Linked DNA regions of Homo sapiens: region 1 is linked to region 2. The links are contacts of gene promoters, found by promoter capture Hi-C in human tissues and cell types (Jung and others, 2019). All regions are on one chromosome and are shown on one strand. Each heading gives the region's core, a stretch centred on a gene start or on the middle of the fragment in contact. The rest is flanking DNA. Distances are from core to core; before and after follow the strand shown.

Evidence for each region. Contacts are between HindIII fragments. The study calls those that stand out against the background at their distance.
Region 1: a fragment that was not itself captured here is called in contact with the fragment with the promoter of RYR3 in region 2 in 4 of the 25 tissues and cell types used here (dorsolateral prefrontal cortex, hippocampus, pancreas and 1 more).

What each region holds. Positions count from the first base shown.
Region 1 is chr15:33,351,394-33,357,315 of GRCh38, forward strand. All of the region lies in intron 1 of RYR3 (ryanodine receptor 3), which reads left to right. Among named protein-coding and RNA genes, the nearest start is that of RYR3, 43 kb to the left of the region's middle. The HindIII fragment of the contact is 6,688 bases long and covers 1,116-5,922 here.
Region 2 is chr15:33,306,932-33,312,736 of GRCh38, forward strand. It overlaps RYR3 (ryanodine receptor 3), which reads left to right and starts at 4,036. Exons shown (of 104, transcript NM_001036.6): 1 at 4,036-4,165. The coding sequence starts at 4,115. RYR3-DT (RYR3 divergent transcript) reads right to left here and starts at 3,728. Exons shown (of 3, transcript NR_120327.1): 1 at 3,647-3,728. RefSeq lists enhancers at 4,257-4,768, 4,769-5,278. The HindIII fragment of the contact is 9,811 bases long and covers 1-5,805 here.

The DNA of each region.
Region 1 (5,922 bases), core at 3,210-5,709, 45 kb after region 2:
CCCTAACTCATTTTATGAGGCCAGCATCATCCTGATACCAAAGCCGGGCAGAGACACAACCAAAAAAGAGAATTTTAGACCAATATCCTTGATGAACATTGATGCAAAAATCCTCAATAAAATACTGGCAAACCGAATCCAGCAGCACATCAAAAAGCTTATCCACCATGATCAAGTGGGCTTCATCCCTGGGATGCAAGACTGGTTCAATATATGCAAATCAATAAATGTAATCCAGCATATAAACAGAACCAAAGACAAAAACCACATGATTATCTCAATAGATGCAGAAAAGGCCTTTGACAAAATTCAACAACCCTTCATGCTAAAAACTCTCAATAAATTAGGTATTGATGGGATGTATCTCAAAATAATAACAGCTATCTATGACAAACCCACAGCCAATATCATACTGAATGGGCAAAAACTGGAAGCATTCCCTTTGAAAACTGGCACAAGACAGGGATGCCCTCTCTCACCACTCCTATTCAACATAGTGTTGGAAGTTCTGGCCAGGGCGATTAGGCAGGAGAAGGAAATAAAGGGTATTCAATTAGGAAAAAGAAGTCAAATTGTCCCTGTTTGCAGATGACATGATTGTATATCTAGAAAACCCCATTGTCTCAGCCCAAAATCTCCTTAAGCTAATAAGCAACTTCAGCAAAGTCTCAGGATACAAAATCAATGCACAAAAATCACAAGCATTCTTGTGTACCTTCTTTAGTGAAGTGACTGTTCAGATCTTTTGCCCGTTTTTAAATCATTTTTTTTAAATTGTTGAGTTTTAAAAAAATATTTTCAGTCTTTATCAAATCCTTACATAGATGGGCCTTAGTTACAGTTCCTTTATCAGATATGTGTTTTGCAAATATTTTCCCCTTTCTGTGGCTTATCTTCTCATCCTCTTACCAGTGTCTTTCATGTGTTTTTAAATTTTATGGCCATTTTCTTTACTCTCAGAGAATAGCTCTGAGAATTAGGGTTGAATTCTTCTGGTGCTAGGTGAGATCAATTATTTTGATACAGTCAGTGCTTTCTTCTTCCCCTTTCTATATTGATAACCACTGGTCTAGATTCCCACTGCTGAGCCAAGCCCACCACACTCTGGAGTCTGCCCTTGTTGACTTAACGAGATAGAAGCAATGAGGAGGTGCACAAAATCCTAGGAGACTTGGTGCTTCGTTTTGTCTCTGCTCATTATCAGCTGCGTGGCTTTAAAAAGACAGTGGTATTTCTCTGTGCTGCAGTTACTTTGGGTCTGATACTCTTTAAGCTAACAATGCATAGAATATTATTCACAAGCAAAAGTTTTACTGGGAAAGTATTTGATTACTCTTACTGAGTTTCAAGGTTGACTACTACAAATAGCTTTTAAAACAGATACCTATGCCCACTTCTGTTTACTCATGGTGGTCATTTAGAGAGCTAAGGTTAAAGCTGTAACTGGATGATTTCTAGGAAGTAGGTTCAAGCAGTTCCAAATATTTCACTTAACACACGAGGACGATGGGGACCTGTTTGCTCTTCTTTTAATATGTTATATTTACTATGCACTTGGAAATCTACCCCGGACCTAACATGAGCTCTCCTTTTGAAAGTGCCCCCCAAAATGGAGCACCTACTCTATGAAACCTTCTCTGACATTTATTAGATAAAGTAGAAAGGTTTAGAGCAGCAGTTCTAGTGTTGTTTCATCTTCTTCATTCCTCTTCTCTAAGGTATATGAGTGCATTTTTTATATTTAGCTTGAATTTAAATTAGAACAGCCTAAGTCAACTGTGGGGAAGATAGTAATATACAGCCAAGTCCGATTTTTGCCTTGGTAAGATATTTCTGTTATTCTATATGCCAAGGAAAGTAACTGAAGAATTTTAAGGAGAATACTGATGTGATTTGATAACTTTTTTGCTTTTTCTGGAGAGGTCACCCTTGAAGGTGCGCATAAAAGGGATTTTAGTTGGGCAGGAGCAAAAGCAGAGAAACATGTTAGGGAGTGATCACAATAGGCAAAGCTACAAAATATCTTGGACCATCTGGTGGCAGTGGAGTTGGGGAGAAGGCATCAGATTTGAAGCTTATTTGGGAGGTAAAGCTAACCAGATTTGCTGTTAGATTGAATCTGAGTGGAAAATATGACAACTAACCATACTGGTTTGCCCAAGACTGTCTTGATTTTACCACTGAAAGTCCCACATCCTAGAAACCCCATCTGGAATGGATGGTTGCCCTAGTGGAGGAACACCTACACTTTAAAATCAGGGGTTGAATCCACAGATCATGAAGTTTCTTTTCCCTACCTCTAAAGTTCTTTGTTGCTGTGATTCTGTGAAATACTCCTGCGGAGCAGTTTTCCCTCAATTAACAGACAGTCTAATGGTGATTTTTTTTTCAGGTAGGTCTAGGGCAGATATTGCAGAAGAAGGCATCCTATATAAGAATAACACATCCCATCCTTTGTAACACCTATGTGAAAGAAAATTCTTTATGGTAGGAGAAATTTAGTTTCCATAAAATAAATCATGTTTTAACTCTGGGGAATGGAAAACTGTGACTCCAGCCTTTTGAAAGATCCTTGAAGAGCAGATTGGACATTGATTTATCTGACGGCTGCCCAGAATCAAAGGAAAGCTTGACATGACCTCTTAGGGTCACTCTTTTGATTCTTTGACAAGTGGTTTGGGTTCTACAGCAAAAGAAGTTGGAAAATGCAAAATTTGGTGAGTACTTATTGTTACTGCCCAACATAAATGTTTAACATCCCATTTTCTCAGATACAGGTGGCATCTATGAGAATTCCTTTGAGAGGCAGTCAACCTACAGCTGTTAAATTCAGCCTCTCTGCAGCATCTACCAAGAAACCACTGTGAAAGAACCATGTAGTAAGATGCCCATTTCTTAGTGTTCCTATCCACCCAGCTTTATTTCTCACATTGGAATCTGGTCTGCCCTCCCTCACTTCTGGTAGAGCATTGCCTCTTGTTTGCTTTCTTTCTGCAAACTGCACACACAAGTGCAAACATTTTGACTAATGTCACCTATGAAGCCTTGAACCTACCCATGGGGAAATGCTCAAAGTCATTTCAAAATCCTGTAAATGAGAGCATCTTTACAAAAAAGAAAAACTGCTAAGTGTCAAGTATCACTTCATAATGCAGCTCTTGACTTGTTATTATTCAAGAATGCCAAGCCTTTCATCTTCTTTGCAAGCCTGCCCTGGAATTGATTTAATCAGCTTTCTGTGCTTGGTGGGAAGTTGTGGTGTGGGAGTAGTTTCTCACTAACTCTCACATATACTCTTTATAAAATAAGTACATCTTTCTTTCAGGAGGTGGTTTATCAAGGTTGATCTGGAAGCTTACTATTTTCCGTGATGCTCAATTTCCTTAGCAATTCACAAGTAAAGTAGTTGGACTTTATTGGCCTGTCTCTGACAGGATCAGTTGAAAACCACCTTTCGGCAGCATTCATCATGAATTATTCCTACAACCAAGATCATGTATTAGTTGGGGCCGAGTGCAGTGGCCTCATGCCTGTAATGCTAGCCCTTTGGGAGGCCGAGGCGGGCAGATCACTTGAGGTCAGGAGATTGAGACCAGCCTGGCCAACATGGTGAAACCCCGTCTCTACTAAAAATACAAAAATTAGCCGGGCGTGGTGGTACACGCCTGTAATCCCTGCTACTCAGGAGGCTAAGACAGGAGAATCGCTTGAACCTGGGGGGCGGAGGTTGCAGTGAGCTGAGATCGTGCCATTGCACTCCAGCCTGAGGGACAAGAGTGAAACTCCCTCAAAAAAAAAAAAAAAAAATCATGTATTAGTTGGCTTGGCCAGACTTGTCATCTTTATATTTTCCAAAACACAAAGCATGAGATCAGGCAAAATTATGAATTCACTATTTAAATGTGAAGGTTTCTAACTTGCAGTCATATTATATTATTTAATGGCCAGGAGAATAAGACTCGTGCTTATGGTAATTAATATTTATTTAGCATCATATGGTACCTATAGCATCACATAGCAGCCTTCCCAGCAACCCTATGAGATGTATGTTATTTTTCCTACTGTACATGTAAGGAAACTGAGGTTGAAAAACTTTAAGGTGTTTGTGAAAGCTGACATCGCTAATAAGCATCAGAGATAGGTTCGCAAATGCTGTGGAAGTCATAAGACAATCAAAGCCACGATTTAATCTTTAGGCTTCTCTTCTGCCATATTTTCTTAGGTAATTTTAAAGAGCCTTTAATCTAGTCATCAAGAGTGTCTAAAACCTTCCAGGCTGGTGTTGCTTCCATTGTAGCTGACTATATGGAGGCCCTTTGTCACTTGGGCCACCAGAAGAAGATGGCTGCTTCTCATCCCTGATCCCCTAGCTAGGTATAACCGGTGCCAATGATATTCATCTTGGGTGGAGAGGATGAGAACTTAGTATCTGTCTGATCCCTATACTCCCTAGGTTCCCGCCACACAATTCAGCTCAGTTATTGGCTTCTTTCTCCTTTTTCCTTTGAAATATGTCATTTGTCTATTCAAAACTTGTTAAGTGCCTGCTTCATATAGAACCCTGTAGTAGATACTGTGAGAGAAACAGAAGAGTGAGACCTTCAGCTGTAGGACATTCAGGTGGAGATTTCCTGCAGATGGATGGCGGGGGGTTCTCAGTTTCAGAGATAGATAAGAACTGTGAGTATAGATTTGTGAATCATGCATACGATGAGGTTCCATGAATCTAAGTGAAGGAGCAGCATGGTTATTTGGAAAGGAATTTTGGAGTGAGAAGGTCCGTGTTAGTCTTATGTCTGACTCTTACTAGATACCTCTGGCAATCTTTATAACCTCAACTAAACCTAAGATCCCTTTTCTCTTAAAGCAGAATAACTGTCATTTCTACCTCACAGCATTGTCACAAGGCTGCAATGAAGTATGCTGGTGTGCTTTGTGATATGCTGTGTCTAAATTTCAGTCGTTAGTGTTATTTTTGTTTCCATCATAAACAAGTGAGAAAAATAAGAGTAGGTGAGGGTGATCCACATGAAAGTGGCCCTCTGGTTACAGTCTGCCACTTTGCAGGTAGGCTTAGAAGTCTGAATTTGAATTTGTGGACTTTTCTCTATGGACATAGTGGCACAGATCTAAGAAATAATGATAATTAAGAACATATCAAAATAAACAAAATTATGTATAATCTCTCTGAATTTTACTTTCTCCCTTAGTAAAATGAGAATGATTATAGACACATAATATGTTTATTTTGAGGATTAAATGAGAGAGGTAAGTAGTAAGGAGTAAGTGTAAGTATAAGTAGATACTTGCAAATTATAAGTAGATACTCTCTGTTCCCTCATCTGTAGATTTTTTCTGTGTGTGCCATTTAGTAAGGTAAGATTGAGGTTTGCTCTCTGAGAACTAATGTAGCATTTAACTCTCCTCTAATGTGGCATATAGTAAGAATCCAGTAAATCACAGGTAGTAATAATTATAATATGGAAAAATAGGCCTTCGGGGGCCATAGTTGAGCAATACCATTTATTACTAGGTAATGTATCCTGGATGCTTCTTTGGAAAGGAGTGATTCCTTATGGCTGGTGACTCATGCTCTGTTCTCTTGGAAGGGTCTTTAGGAAGTGGAAGGTGTCGTGTCCCATCCTTCACTTGTCTATCTCACCTGCTTTCCCTGCCTGTATGCCACCTCTGACTTTGCTTTCCTACCACGTGGCCTGGTCCTGGACATATGTGGTGTTTGCAGCAAACAGAAGTCTAAAAATTTTGAAGGAGGGCCCAGCCCTACTTCTGCCACTTATCAGACCTGAATTATGTGGACACTGCTGGGTTTCTTTAAAATAACTTCAGATCTGGTCTTGAATGGATCAAGAAAGATTTTCTTAATAAAACAAACAAAAACAGCAATCCTGTCCTTTATGAATT
Region 2 (5,805 bases), core at 2,786-5,285:
AGCAAATGGAGTGAAGCTAACTGGCCCTCCTAGAACTGAATCCATATCCTTGGCCTCATTGAGACCACTTGGGCAACTGGCTACCATGAATAATACAACATAGCAAATGAGATACTGACTTATATGAGTGTGGACATTTTCATTAGCATTTTAAAACTATAGCAATATTACTGTTAAAACACAAATAAGAGGCCCTCTTATGTGAGAAAATCCTTAGGACCAATACTTTGAGAACCTCCAGAGGAGAAAATAAATACATGAATTTTATTTCAATAGTCAATATTGAATAACAATATTTCAATGTCAGGCCTTTAAAATTGTATATGTAAAAGGTATAAAAGTGCTATAATGATAAAAATGAAAAATTTCTGATTTGGCCCCCACTACAGGCTCTCCACCTGCTGTTGATATTGGCTGCAGAGTGCCCCAACATTCAAATACAGCAGGCTTTGAGGTCTGACTTTGAACCATGCCAGTATCCCAAAGGTATTTGATTTCCCTGTTGTGTGCACCTAATTGAAGTCATAATAATGGCTGATAGCTTTCTCCAGAGGTTTAGAAACCTGGGAGGCTTTGGGTTTTTCTTTCAAAATGTAGTAGCTACAGTACCCTCTAAGACCTAAGGTCCAAGTCCTCCGGCTCTCTACTAAGAGTAACTGGTCTTGAGAGAGACTCAGTTTAAAATATAGGCTGTGTGGAAGCAAACCCAATGTGTATGGGGTATGGGGGCATGGAGGTGGTGTATGAACCTGATGTTTTCCACTTTGCTGTTCTAGAAGCAAGGCACTATAGTGGAGAAAGTACTGAAAAGTATTGAGATTGTTTTACTCCAAGTAAGAGGAGATTGTGTGACTCCTTTTACTAGATGTATGAATTTAGACAAGTAACTTACTATTAGTTTATTCTCTCCCGGTCTTAATGGGTGAACTAATAGCAAAACAAGTATCAAAGCACAGTGTCTGAACTACTATTTATCTGTACCTGTATGACTACAGCATCATTATTGGTGCATCTTTGGGAAATCTTAGAGAATGGAAGAAGTACCAATAGATTTCAAATAGAAGTAAATGTCCACCTTCCCCAGTTTACAGTCTGAAACAACAGCCTGAGACTCTTTTATACGCTGAGCTCCAGAACAATCTTAGATTTTGATAATTAAACAGCTTACTTTTGGGAACTCTAAAGGAACACAAAGACCATCAGGAATCCAAGTGGATGCACCAATGGTGTTACAGAACTCCATTCTTACTTCTTTTGTGGTAGGGTTATTTGACTGATGCGGGAGGTGGTGTCCCAGATTACATATCTGTATTTCAGTAAAGTATGTAAGAAAGGCATTTATAGTAGCCCTATGAACAAGAAGAAATTTGGGCTGCAAAATAATATATTTATGTAGGTTATTTTTTAATTATAACTTTTATTTTAGGTTCAAGGGTACATATGTAGGTTTGTTACATAAGTAAACTGCATGTCATGGAGGTTTGGTGTACAGATTATTTTGTCACGCAGGTAATAAGCATAGTACTCAATAGGTATTATTTTTCTGACTTAGGTAAGTTCTTGATCATTAAATAAGCATAATCAAAAGTATGAAAGTTAATCCAACAGGGCCTCTATTAGTATTCTGAAGGTATGCCATATTAAGCATAATCAAAAGTATGAAAGTTAATCCAAGAGGGCCTCTATTAGTATTCTGAAGGTATGCCATATCACAGGTTAGTAATAATTAGCACCTTGCCTGGCATACTCTAGCTTTAAAAATACCTTAAAGGTTCACATATAGAGACATCAATACATGATTGGGTATTACAATTGGAAGGAACACACACACACCCACCCACACACACACACACACACACACATATTTTTGAGACAGAGTCTCGCTCTTGTTGCCCAGGCTGGAGTGCAATGGCATGATCTCGGCTCACGGCAATCTTCACCTCCCGGGTTCAAGCGATTCTCCTGCCTCAGCCTCCCAAGTAGCTGGGATTACAGGCATGCACCACCACGACCGGCTAATTTTGTATTTTTTTTTTTTTTTTAGTAGAAATGGGGTTTCTCCATGTTGGTCAGGCTGGTCTCGAACTGCCGACCTCAGGTGATCCACCCGCCTTGGCCTCCCAAAGTGTTGAGATTATAGGCGTGAGCCACCGTGCCCACAGGTACTCAAGCACTTGCATGTGATCAAGATGGAGAAGAGCTGACTTTTGCAGTTCACGTGGGAGGAAAAAAGTAAATCTAGAAATTCTAGTTAACTCCAAACACAGTGAGTGTCATTAGTGTTTCTCCAGAAGCCAATCCAATATTAGGCTGCACATAAAGACTGTCCAAAACAAGGACGGAGAGCACAACAATTCAGGAAGAAGACCACCTGGAATGCTCATATGGCCATCAAAGATGACATAGGCTCTGGAAACTATACTACAGGGAAAGTTGGGGCTAAGAAGAACCTTGAGCCAGGAGAAGAAAAGAGTGGATGGTGGGCCATAGAGGCAAGCATGGCAGATGCCTTCTAAGAGGTGAAGGGCCACAATGTACAGATGGTTTGACTTATTCTAGGCGGGTTTCAGAAGAGGCACAAGGCCCAAGCTGAAGCCTAGAAGGTAGCAGTTTGAGTACAATACAAGAAAAAAACATTTTTCTTTGCATTTCTGATGTTCATCAGAACATATGGGACGGAAGCTCAGGAAAGAGATCTTAAGGTAGCATCAAGAGATAGATGTCGTCCACAAGGAGGCGGTATATGAAGCTGTGAAATGGCTTGGGGTTTCCAGTGTCTTCCACCATCATCAGCCCAGAATTACCACCTTCCCAGTTGCACTTCCTCCTAAATCTACATCTCTGGTGCCTTTTGCCTTGAACAGTCTCTTGCCTTGGAGCTTCTCGGCCATCAAACAGAAGGGGGCACCCTGCACCGTCAGTCAAGGCAAGGACCAATCTGGCAATCCCCAACCATGGAAAAGGACCTAAGGCTGGGTGGGATGTAGGAGCCTTCCAGGACCTGGAAGGGAGCCTCCTGTAACTACTCTCTACTCCCTTTAGAGTCCACAGGGCTGGAACTCTAAATGCAGAATAAGGTTAGGGGTGGGCAGAGAGGAAGGGTTGTGATGCCACCTGACTTCCAAATTGAGGGTGGCACAGGATCCCCCAGAAGCTCCCTGGGGTACAGAAGTCACAGCAACCCTGGACAATCCAGGGGTTTGGTAAAGTGTACTTACCAATTTTGAAGAGGGGAAGGGGTTCTCTTAAGGTGTAGAAAGGACTATCCAGGGAGTTGCAAACTTTGTTGTAAGTGGACAATCACCCTCGCTCCTCACTGCACCGTCTTCTCCTTGCCCAACAATGCACGCGGGTCCTAGCAAGGTATTCGAGTCCAGATCTCTCTCTCTCTCTCTCTCTCTCTCTCTGTCTCTGTCTCTCTCTCTTTCCTCTCTCTGTCTCTCTGTCTCTGTCTCTCTCTTTCCTCTCTCTCTCTCTCTGTCTCTGTCTCTCTCTTTCCTCTCTCTCTCTCTCTATCTCTGTCACACACACACACACACACACACACACACACACACACACACAGGCAAAGTGGGCAAAGCGGGCAAAGCGAGCAAAGCGAGAGGGTTGGTACCCAGTCTGGGCGCGCTGGAGCTAAGCAACTGGCCTTTGTTTGTGAATTGGAGCAGTTTAGGGGACATCCTCCGGTCGCCGCGGGGCGCGCGCCTCCGCTGAGTGTGCGGTGCGGTACCCAGCGGTGCGGGGGAGGCTCCACCGCGCCAGCCCAGGGCCCCCGCACCGCCCCCGCCAGCTCGACGCGCCCAGCGTTGCGCTCTCCACGGAGCGGGCGGCCGCAGCGCACTTGGCTGGGGCGAGAGGCGAGAGGGGTGGGCGGACTGCTTGGTTGGCGTTGGCGCTCTGCAGTGCAGTGGAGTGTTAGCCCAGCTCCCTATATGGTCGGGGATTAGCTTGGCGCTGCTGAGGCTGAGGCTGAGCCAGGAGCTGGAGGAGGAGGTGGAGGACGAGGACGAAAAGGAGGAGGAGAAAGAGCGCAGCAGCAGTCAGCGCACGCCGAGCGGCTGCCGGGGGAAGCAGAGGCGCCGGAGGCTGGGGCACCGCCGACGCCTCGGGAGCCATGGCCGAAGGGGGAGAAGGAGGCGAGGACGAGATCCAGTTTCTGAGGACTGTGAGTCTCCGCGGCGGGGGCGAGGCCGTGGGCAGGTGGGGAGGAGCGCGGAGCGCGGCGAGGAGGGGCTGGCTGCGCTGCGCCGCGGTGCCGGGTGCCCGGTGCCGGGCGCTTTCTCCGCACCCGCGGGCTGCAGAGGCGGACCGGCCACCTACCCGCGGGGCCGCGAGGGGCTGCGTGGGAAGGGGCACCATCTCCTGCCTCTCCCTTGTTCCCCTACCGCCACCCCTGCCCCAGGCCCTCCACCTAGGACCGCTCGCTCTCCAGGCAACTTGCTACTTGGTCTGAAACCCTTGATGCCCAAACTTCAGCCGGGGTTTGTTCGCGGTTGTCCTGACCCATAAGATCGGCGTTGGAAGCCCTCGCCCCGGGGTCGGCCCTCTGACACCTCCATACTCCACCCCAGCCCCATTCCTCTTCCAGGGCGCCCCCACGCACAGGGGAACCTCCGGGAAGGAGCCAGCGGGGCAGGGGGGAGTGTGGGGAGCCGGGTCGGAGAAGCGGGCGCAGGCGCTTGGTCCTAGCCCTGGGATCGCTCGGAGGGGAATTCACCCAGCGCTGCCCCTCTCGTGTTAAGCCCCACGCCGGCAACTGCTGCTGGAGCCTGACTTGACTGACTGCCTGTCGTGTGTTCGAGAGCTGTGGCTTCTGCTCCTGGCTCCCGCGAGCCCCGCAGGACAGGGAAACCCCAGTCAGTGGCTCCGCGTCACTCAGGTCCCCTCCTTGACACCTGAGGGCGCTGCTCCGTCCCAGATTTGGGGGTGAGGGGGCGAAGTCTGTTGCAGCCACACCAGCCTTGCCCTGTAGGAGATAATACAAAGACTTTCAGGGTGGACGGCCACCCGGAGGGGTGGGGGCATTGGGGATGCATCCTAGCGCTGACTTCAGCCAAGTGACCTTGAGCAAGTCGCATAATCCGCCCTACTCAGCCTCAGTTTCCTCATGTGTAAAATAAAATGTAACCAGCGTTTCAGGGTGATAAGGATTAAACGTTATCGTGAATGTCATAATGTTTTGTAAACGGCAAATCGCTCTGTAAATCTTAGGTAATTTTATATGCGCTGCCTTGCTCTCAGGAATTAGAATGAAATTCTTTCTTTCCCTCTCTCACTTCCCTTTAAGGGTGCCCCCTTCTCCATGACCTGGTCTTCGAAGATCACAACTTACCTCTTGTCCATCTTTTGAACCACTCTCCTCCTGTTGAAGCGCTTCCTTCCAATTTACTTCAGTTTCTCTTCCAAACATGGTTCTTTTGTCAAAGCTGGGACTTGGGTCTTATTTGGGGGGGGTATGGAAGTACCTATCGCCCTGCTGGTACTACTGAGAGGCTAGAGTATTCATCTCTTCATCCTTCGTCTGACCTGCAGACCCAGACTCCATTCTCATCTCTCACACTGCACACAAGATGGCCCCACAGTTGCAACTCATGACAACCCTATTGTTATAAAGCTGCCTGCTCCCCTCAAAGCTCCATCAAATCCTTTGGTTGTCCCTCTGACAGGTGTCTTTAGTAGTGGATGGGTGGCAGCTCAGGTTTTTTCTGCCTTGTGTCCTCCATGATCAGTCATTTCTTCTCCTTATTATTAATGATCTTCTAGGCGTTATTGCTTGAAAAAATTATCTTCAGACAGGGTCAGTGT